Linked DNA regions of Homo sapiens: regions 2 and 3 are each linked to region 1. The links are contacts of gene promoters, found by promoter capture Hi-C in blood cells and fetal thymus (Javierre and others, 2016). All regions are on one chromosome and are shown on one strand. Each heading gives the region's core, a stretch centred on a gene start or on the middle of the fragment in contact. The rest is flanking DNA. Distances are from core to core; before and after follow the strand shown. Region 1 holds the start of MAML3 (mastermind like transcriptional coactivator 3). Region 2 overlaps NDUFC1 (NADH:ubiquinone oxidoreductase subunit C1). Region 3 has its middle 6.5 kb from the start of QKILA.

What was found. The method cuts DNA at HindIII sites, captures the fragments that hold promoters and counts their contacts. A CHiCAGO score of 5 or more calls a contact.
Region 2: a fragment that was not itself captured here is called in contact with the fragment with the promoter of MAML3 in region 1 in 2 of 17 cell types (fetal thymus and total CD4 T cells); the score reaches 6.4 in fetal thymus.
Region 3: a fragment that was not itself captured here is called in contact with the fragment with the promoter of MAML3 in region 1 in 1 of 17 cell types (M1 macrophages); the score reaches 5.8 in M1 macrophages.

The regions. Positions count from the first base shown.
Region 1 is chr4:140,152,463-140,155,739 of GRCh38, forward strand. MAML3 (mastermind like transcriptional coactivator 3) reads right to left here and starts at 1,722. Exons shown (of 5, transcript NM_018717.5): 1 at 398-1,722. The coding sequence starts at 865. The HindIII fragment of the contact is 806 bases long and covers 1,373-2,178 here.
Region 2 is chr4:139,291,550-139,294,826 of GRCh38, forward strand. It overlaps NDUFC1 (NADH:ubiquinone oxidoreductase subunit C1), which reads right to left. Exons shown (of 6, transcript NM_001184989.2): 5 at 981-1,060. The coding sequence ends at 1,001. Among named protein-coding and RNA genes, the nearest start is that of NAA15, 8.3 kb to the right of the region's middle. The HindIII fragment of the contact is 965 bases long and covers 966-1,930 here.
Region 3 is chr4:139,628,079-139,631,355 of GRCh38, forward strand. No RefSeq gene overlaps it. Among named protein-coding and RNA genes, the nearest start is that of QKILA, 6.5 kb to the left of the region's middle. The HindIII fragment of the contact is 178 bases long and covers 1,664-1,841 here.

The DNA.
Region 1 (3,277 bases), core at 472-2,971:
CGGCTAGAGGTGGGGTGGGGAGCGGCGAAGAGGAGGAGCAAGGTTTCAACTCAGGGGTTCACTCTTTCAAATCGGTATCTTAAGAAAGGGAAGGGGGGAAACTTTTCCAGCACCTCACTCCGACGCTCCTCTAGGCTCCCTCCGCCCCTCGCAGTCGTGACTGGCTTCTCCCCTCTCGCCCCCTCCTCCCCAAATCTGACAACCCTGACAGATTAACAGGTAGCGACGACGGCAGCTTTTTCCCTAAGAAAAGTTGACGTTAACCCTTAGGCTTCAGCCCACCTCACCCACCGTGCAAATCAGACCCTTGTACCCCCATGTAAGAAGCTCCACGCGCCCCCCACCACCACCACCACCCCCAACGCGCGCCGCAAGCCCGCTGCCCGTGCGCCCTCACCATGATCAGCGTGTGGTTCCTCTGCTCCGCCGAGGCAGCCTCCGCATCTTGCTGGGGTTTGCTCGGGTGCTGCTGTTTGCCGGTGCCGGCGCCCGATTTCTTGGCCCTCTGCTCCAGGGTCCGCTGGTAGAGGCTCACGGTGTCCCGGCGCTCCAGCTCCAGCTGCTCCACCTGAGCCTGCTGGTACCTGTTCTCGCAGTTGACGTGGTGCCGACGGCAGCCCTCGATGCGCTGGCGGAGCCGCTCCACCACGGTGCTGTGCTTGGGAACGGCCGCCGAACCGCCGCCGGGGCCCCCGGAGCCGCCGCATCCACCGGCTGCCGGGTGATTGCTACTCGGAGCAGCGGGAGTACTATTGGGAGTATTATTCACACCGATCCCGGCCCCGCCGAGGCTGCTGTTCAGGCTACTGTTGATGCAAATACTACTGCCATTCGCGGCAGCAGCGGGGGCTGCGAAATCCCCCATCCTGCTCCCCGGGCACACTATTTTGGAAGAACTTTTTTTATCCACCCCCCTATCAGCCTCCTCCTTGGGTCCAAGGATTAAAATAGTTTAAGTGGAACGCGGGGGAGACGCAAGCACATGGATGGAAACGGCGATCCCGACGGGGCGAAAAAAACGGGGGGGGAGATTTTGGGGTGGTTTTTGTTTCCTTTTTTTAAACTGTAAAAGCTCAAGGGGAAGAAAAGGGGGGAACGTTATCGGAATACCATCAGACACCTATCAACAAAAAGAATCACAACAAACTGAGCCAGCAGCAAATCGGGTTGCAACTCAAGGGGAGATCCGCTCCTTGCTTGCCTTCTTTTTATAATCCATTATTTTCTAATAAATTCCAGGAGATTTCCGGTGGTTGGCAAGCATTTTCTCCCTACATACCGAAAAACACACCCCATGTACACACACAAGCATATGCCTCCAGTGCGGACACGCGCGACACACACTCACTCCACACCGCATCGGAAAACGGCAAGCTTGCTTATTGCATTTTCCTTCCACAAAAAAGTTTTGGTGTTTATGCCGCCCCGTGTTCTCAAAGTACTTTGGCTGCTCAGTTGCATTTCACAGGAACCTAGATATCGAATCCTCGGGCTGGGGGAAGTAAACACATGGACAGTCCGAGGCGACTGCAAAAGTAGATCGGTGAAGTCCTTTGCAAAACGCCGCGCAGAGAGCAGCACCTAACGCTCGGCTGGGCTGCCGCTGCCGCCGCTGCTCCTGCCACCATCACAATGATCAACTGCTCGCCGCCGCCGCCGCCGCCGCCTCCTCCTCCTCCTCTCGCTCCTCCACCTCCTCCTCCTCCTCCATGCCAGCGGAGTGATATCAGGACGCGCGAGCTCAGTAAACACGGCAGCGGCGGCGGCTGGAGGCCGTGAGACAGGCCCGCGGACACGGCGCAAAACCCGGCCCGGACTCTCACCCGGCAGGAGCGGGCGCGGCACGCACCAGCACCCGGCTCCCGTCTCCGTCGCCTCGGCGCCCGGCGCCCCTCCTACGCCCCCAACCACACTACCGCCCCGCCGAGAAGCCCAGAGCCGTCGGCGACGGAGAGAAGAAAGATTCTGGGGGGATCTCAGAAATAAATCAACTTTTGACCTGTGTGTGTGCGTGAGAGCGTGTGTGAGTGTGTGTGTCTGTGTATGCGCGCGCGCGTGCGCGGGGACGCGCCTGGTAGGGTTTCCTTATTCCAAGGAAAGTATCAAGCGATCCCAAGTTGTTGTTATACATTTATGCATTATATTGCAGAACTGTGCATGACCAGGCAGAAACATTGAAGCTTTACAGCAGTTGTCTGTCATCCCTATCCATGTGGAAAGAAAAAGGCAAATGAGTGACTTGTTTTTAAAACCCAGGTAATAAGTCTGCGCTAGTAACAGCGCTACTTACGGACACTTGTTCCAAGTCTAGGCCAGACTGAACACACAAATACCAAATTCTAAATAAATAGAAATAGGCATCAAAAATGTGTAATATTTAACTCACTGTACATAATGATTGTTGTTACTAAGTCAATTATTGTTTTACTTACCCTTGGAAAAAAATAAAGCAAGCAGGGACTTGGAGGTGAGACTAACAGTACATTTAAACAGACTGTTTTGAACACTAGGTGCTAATGACAGCAGTAATTAAGGTCCTTCGTAAATCAAGTGGAAAGATTGCAGATTTCATAGACTAGAACTATAGAAAAAACACAGCATTTCACAGTTTGTCATGACCAAAACAAAAACAAGCAAAAATAACAGGCCTACTTTATTGCTGGATATATTTCTTTCCATTTCAATGAATTCACAATAAGTACAATTAAAATGGACTAGCAACTGCAGAAATCAATCTAAACTTTCCATTTTATTAAAGCACATTATCTTTCCCGATATTATCTAAAAACAAAAATAACAACTAAGGATCAAATATTCTTGAATATGGACTTAAACCATTGCATATACATATTTTTAAAAATTAAGATGGAGAAATTATTATTTCTCTAATAATCAGTAAACTATAAATCTTGATTGTGAGATGTTAATTATAAGTCATTTTGTATTATTTCAATAAATCTTAAGAATTAGTTTTTAGGGTAAAAATACACCCCAGTTTTCTAAAATAGCCAGGAATAAAAGAACTTTGGATCTTATGCATTAGTCATGAGATCTGATTTAAACCATCTTCATTTCTTGGCATTGCAGATTAGCACAGGATGCTATTTCTAACCTCATAATGTCAGCGATAAGAAGCTATATTTTTCTTCAATTAATCAGTTCTATATAGTGAACGATATTTTTAATATTCACTGGATATATGGCAAAATGGGCAGCAAAATATTTAATACGGTGTGAGGCTACTTCTAAGCAGTAAAACCAACTTAAGAGAGTGTAT
Region 2 (3,277 bases), core at 198-2,697, 860 kb before region 1:
GGTGGCTCCGTCTCAAAAAATAAAATAAAATAAAAAGAATCGATTGCCGTTATACATTCATCACTTCTACAAATATTAAACTCCTAAATGGACCAGATGAGCAAGTTGCTGAATAAAGGATAATTAATAAAATAGGTTTCTGTTCTCATGGAATTCACACTCAAGTGTACAAGATACCAAACAGACATTAAGAAATACACACACGAAGAATAATAATTTGTCATAAGTGCTATGAAAGCAAAGTGTAAAGCACTATCAGATTTAAGAAAATAATATGATTTTGGGTTCATTCTTTTTTTTTTTTTGAGAAGGAGTCTCACTCTGTCACCCAGGCTGGAGTGCAGTGGCACGATCTTGGCTCACTGCAAACTCTGCCTCCCGGGTTCACGCCATTCTCCTGCCTCAGCCTCGCGAGTAGCTGAGACTACAGGCGCCCGCCACAACACCTGGCTAATTTTTTTGTATTTTTGGTAGAGACGGTGTTTCACTGTGTTAGCCAGGATGGTCTTGATCTCCTGACCTTGTGATCCACCCGCCTCGGCCTCCCAAAGTGCTGGGATTACAGGCGTGAGCCACCGCGCCTGGCAGATTTTGGTTTCATTCTTAAACATACCTTTCTTTGAACAGAGTCAAAGACTAATGATTAAAAATGATTACGCTAAAAGATTCTTGAGGCTAGCAAAGTGGCTCATACCTATAATTCCAACATTTTCAGAAGCTGAGGCAAGGAGTGAGACCAGCCTGGCCAACAGGTCTACAAACAAACAAACAACAAACAAAAAAAACCCCATCCCCCCCAAAACAAAACCAACTGCTTGAGGCAAGGTATTACAAATTTATAAATTTGTCACAGACAGAAATATGGGTGCTAAAATGTATAAACCTAATACAAAACAAACAACAAGCTTGTTTTTCAGTATTTAAAAAAGAGGTCAAGTTAATTTGCATAATCTATTCATCCAATAAGCTTGTATACTTACTACATTAGTGTTTCAAAAGTTTATTCCAGCCCATTTCTTCTTTTGTACTCTAAAATATCTTCATTGTGTTGTTTGATGAGCTACAAAGAGTTAAACAGTTAAAATTAGAAATGTAATCTTCCTGGATACTTATATTTTGTAAAGGAATAAGGATAGAAAAAATAAACAACTATTCTAGTTAGAAATAAAAGGCTAAGAGATCCAAAAGTTCAAAAACCAGGAATGGTATAAACTTGCTCACCACAATGTGACATCCTAAATTTGAGAAGGGAGCCCTTAAATATATATATATATATTTATTTATTTATTTAGAGACGGAGTTTTGCTCCACCCCAGGCTGGAGTGGAATGGCGTGATCTTGGCTCACTGCAACCTCCTTCTTCTGGGTTCAAGCGATTCTCCTGCCTCAACCTCCTGAATAGCTGGGATTACAGGCGCCTGCCACCACGCCTGGCTAATTTTTGTATCTTTAGTAGAGATGGGGTTTCACCATGTTGGCCAGGCTGGTCTCGAACTCTGAGCTCAGGTGATCCACCCGCCTCGGCCTCCCAAAGTGTTGGGATTACAGGCATGAGCCACCGCACCTGGCCAAAAATTTAAATTAAACTACTGCCAAAAATTTTACCTCATTTGGTGGGTAATAAACGTAATGAAATGGCTTATCATGAAGGGGTAAATCAATATGATACAGCACAACTTGGTTATTAAATGGGATCCAGGCTGGTTGGTGGGTGCGTGTTATGCTTCTAATCTTAGAAGTAGGATACCTTGATTGAATGACCAACCCCATCACGAAACTGTATGTGTATTAATTAGATGTCATGGAGGACAGTCACATTTTTAGGACCACTGTCTGACAGAATATGCAACTGGAAAAATGGCTTATATACGATGACATTCATGGCAATCAAAGATCCAAGTTCAATCACTAGTGCTCTCAGCAGTAATTAAGCTTCTTGTTAGAGAAAACCTTAAATTAAGAATGTATAAAATTCATTATAAGCAACATTATTCAAAAAGATGAGTTACTATTAAGTTGTAAGTGACTCAAAATCTCTCACCCCTTTCCAAGTCAAAAATCTGAACCACTTCAACAAGAAAATTTAAAATATCTTAGAGCTGGGGGACAGTGGAGGAAGTCCCAAACCCATTAGATAAAAAACAAAATTTTAAATATTAATATAGCAGATACTTTAACTTTAAAAAGAAATTTTATCCCAACAGAGGCAGTGTTTCACAGTCTTTTCTAGGATAGTGTGGCCTCTGAAGTCAGGAGAACTGGGTTCAGCAAACTAGTTTCTCCAAGTGTTTCTTATCTGTAACGGGTCAACAATAGTAGGTGCCACGTAGTGTTGTTGAAATGATTAAACGCAAGTTTATGTGTAAAGCATGTGGTGTGAATTTTTTTTTTTTTTTTTTTTTTTTTTTTTGAGACAGAGTCTCGCTGTATCTCCCAGGCTGGAGTGCGGTAGCACGATCTCGGCTCACTGCAAGCTCCACCTCCCGGGTTCACACCATTCTGCTGTCTCAGCCTCCTGAACAGCTGGGACTACAGGCGCCCTTCGCTACACCTGGCTAATTTTTTTTGTATTTTTGGTAGAGACGAGGTTTCACTGTGTTAGCCAGGATGGTCTGGATCTCTTGACCTCGTGATCCGCCCACCTTGGCCTCCCAAAGTGCTGGGATTACAGGTGTGAGCCACCACGTCCGGCCTGAAAATTTTTTTAAAAAGGTCGCTACACACTATGTACAATTTCCAACAATGTATTTATACAAACATTGATTAAAACCTAATGGAAGTCTACTGGGATTCAATTTGTACAACTTGCACACTGCTGGTTTGTCCTTACAGCATCTGAAAAAGGTACCTTCATAAAACTCCAATTAGCCTCAATTCTCATTAAGAAATAAAGTATAATTACTATTGCCGGGCGTGGTGGCTCACGCCTGTAATCAGAACACTTTGGGAGGCCGAGGCGGGCGGATCAATAGGTCAGGAGATCGAGACCATCCTGGCTAATACGGTGAAACCCCGTCTCTACCAACAATACAAAAATTAGCCGGGCGTGGTGGCGGGCGCCTGTAGTCCTAGCTACTTGGGAGGCTGAGGCAGGAGAATGGCGTGAACCCGCGAGGCAGAGCTTTCAGTGAGCCGAGATCACGCCACTGCACTCCAGCCTGGGAGACAGAGTGAGACTCCATCTCAAAAAAAAAAAAAAAAAGTATAATTACTATTTAGTAAAACTGCCATTCCTTACAAAACCATGTTAAGGAACAATAACAGAAATTTTAGTCCC
Region 3 (3,277 bases), core at 503-3,002, 520 kb before region 1:
TTGTAGAATAAAATGATTTTCCTTATGATATAAACTCTGAACACATCAAAGCCAAATAATAATCTGAAGAAACTGGTTTCAGCCATAAGAAGAAAAGGCTGGAAACAAACCAAGCTACATCCCTCCTAAGTGTCTTTATTCCAGCTAATTCTGAGGAGCAATCGGGATGCTCTTGAAAGCATTTGCATTGCAAAGTAGGCTGGAAATTGGCCTTGTTTAAACAAGCACTCCCTGTAAGTGCTGCCCACCCTTACCCCCGCTTGGCAGCAGCAACCTGTCCATATGAGAAGCAGCCACGTGAGCCATTGCTGCTGAAAAGAAACCTTTGAGCTGCTCGACTGTTTAACTAATTAATGCCTTGCTCCCCTAAGGTTAGAAAGAAAAGGAGGAGGAAGAATTTGTGGGTGATACACCACTTTGGGTCCATAATATACTTTCAAAGACGAATGCAAGGTGTACTCACTGGGTACTGTTCAAATCTCTTGTGGAATCTTCACTAATCCCTGGCGTTCGGCGGATCACAGCGAGGCCTCTGGCTGCAGAGCCGATCTCAATGGGTCGATAGCAACAGGAAAGACTCTAAAGCTTCTTTTGATCCTAGCATAAATCAGAAGAAAAAAAAATCCACGAGTCCCACCACGGAACATTAGCCGTCTAAGCAGGGATATTTTAAAACTAAGCAACCTCTGAGGCTGACCAGCAGCCAAGAAGCCCAGGGAGTGGAGGACAGCAAATAGGGATGGGGAGGGAGGGTGAGGCCGGTGGGAGCCGGTGTCCTGTGCTGTGACAGATTGACATGTGTCACATACTCCCCTTCTCCCTTTCTCTCTCAAGTTATGCCATTAGAGCCAGACCTACCCAAAATTGTGAAGAAAAGTACAAAGTACAAGTTCCCTCCTTTATTATTATCATTATATTTTTTTTACTGCTCTTTTTTATTTTTATTTTATTTTATTATTATTATACTTTAAGTTTTAGGGTACATGTGCACAATGTGCAGGTTAGTTACATATGTATACATGTGCCATGCTGGTGTGCTGCACCCATTAACTCGTCATTTAGCATTAGGTATATCTCCTAAAGCTATCCCTCCCCCCTCCTCCTCCTTTATTATTACAGTTGACCCCTGCACTGTACAGTTCAACACGGGTTTGAACTTCAAGGGTCCACTTATACTTGGATTTTTTTTTTCAACCAAAGCTAATCGATAATACAGTATTCCCAGGATGCAAAACCTGAGGACTGGCTTTTCACATGGGTTCTGTAGGACTTGAGTATGGACTTGAGTATGTTCGGATTTTGATATCTGTGGGGGTCCTGGAACCAATACCCTGTATATAACCAAGGATGACTGTAGGTTTGTTTGTTTGTTTGTTTGTTTTTCTTAACCATCCTATGTTAGTCTACTCAGGCTGCCATAACAAAATACCACAGACTGGGTGGCTTAAATAGCAGAACTTTATTTTCTCACAGTTCTGGAGGCTGGAAATCCAGGGTCAAGGTGCCAGCAGGCCTCTCTTCCTGGCTTGCGGCTAGCTGCCTTCTTGCCATGTCCTCACATGGCCTTTCCTTTTGGTGTCTCTTCCTCTTCTTATAAAGACACCAGTCCTATTGGAGGAGGGCCCTCCTCTTCTGGCCTTATTTAATCTCAAGTGATCCTCGAAGCTTCTTTAAGGAAATCACTTCCTAAAAGGCCTTAACTCCAAACACAGTCACAGTGGTGATTAGGGCTTCAACATAGGGTTTTTGGGAAGGACACAGTCTAGTCCATAGCATACCTCCCTGCTTTTCTTTCCATGTTTGCACGCCTGTCCCTTTTACTTGTCTCTCCAGTTACACTAAGCTTAACTCAGGAAATGGTCTGACATGGCCCAATGCACTTGAGGAATGGAGAGCTGGATGCTGGAAGGGACCCTTTATTAGGATCTTCTCTAGGAGACAGGATGAGTGTGAAAAAACCAGACTTCAGAGGAGAGTGTGGATCATGCCATGGAGTGTTATGGCTGAAACTAAGTGGTTACTATGCTGTCTTTCTCCTTTTCACACTCAACTTCTAGGAAAACAAAAGCCATGCTGATTTCTCCATTTTCTCACTCCCATTCATTCTCCAACCTAGCCTGGCTTCCATGATGATTCTGAAACATTTTTCAATGGAATGGCTAAAATCTGCCTAGTTAAGTATCTCCTTGTGTTACACCCTATGCACACTTCTTTCATTTATTTAAGTATGCATTCAACTGAGCATTGCATGTAGCCACAGCCCAGTTTCTTCAAGTTTGCCATGTCTGAGGACTTGTAGACCAATGGATCTTCAGTTTTTGGATCATCTTTTAACTAGACTAGGTTGTGGGATTGTATGTAATATTTCTCTCCTTTTATACTTGAATTACAAAAGTGCTTTTCAGATTTCCGACACTGTCACCTACATGATGTCATTTTGTCTTGAGTAACAGCAACATTATGAAGTTCTTTATCAAAATAATTCTATGATTATTGCAATTATGCGTTTCTGAGAAGGAGCAGAATTCATCATAAAGACTGATGACTCTTTTCTTTGGGAAATACCTTGAAAAGACTTTTAAAAATAAGAATGAGATGCCACAGGGGCAGGGATTGTGAAAAGAGGACTGCATGCTGCATGTACATTCACTGTACATGAATTTAAGAGTATTTCCCTATAGGCTTGCAAGAGGGGGCCAGAGGATCATATATATTATAGGAACACCAGGTTTGATTTCCCATTGTGCAGTAATAGATCAATACACCAAAACAGAAGGAGTTGCAACAGAGAAAGGGTTTAATAATGGTAGGGCAGCCAAATGAGGAGACAAGAGGAAACCTCAAATCCACCTCCCTGAGAGGATTGGGGATGAGGTTTTTAAGGGCTCTGTATGGGCAAATGGCTAAAGTGTGGGGATTGTTGATTGGTCCAGAAGTGAGGAGTGAAGTCATGGGACAGGGAGATGAAGAAACAACATTCCTGTGCTGAGTGAGTTTCTTGGTGGGGGTCTTTAAACCGATTGGTGGCAGCCGTTCTGCAGGAATTCAGGTTCTGAAAAACACTTTAAGCAGTTCTTGGGTAAAAAGGTCAAATGTCACAGATTCCATCGATAGGAACAATAGAGGAGCTGGTGGTCAGCCTGCTCTGTGACTCTCGGTTAGTTAGCTGGTGCAGGGAAGTGGGTCAAAGTGCACCTGTGCACCCTGGTCAATGCCTAACTAAAATTCTGCCTAAAGCATGGCTTGTCATTCTTGTTAACCTGTGAGGGTGGTTTCA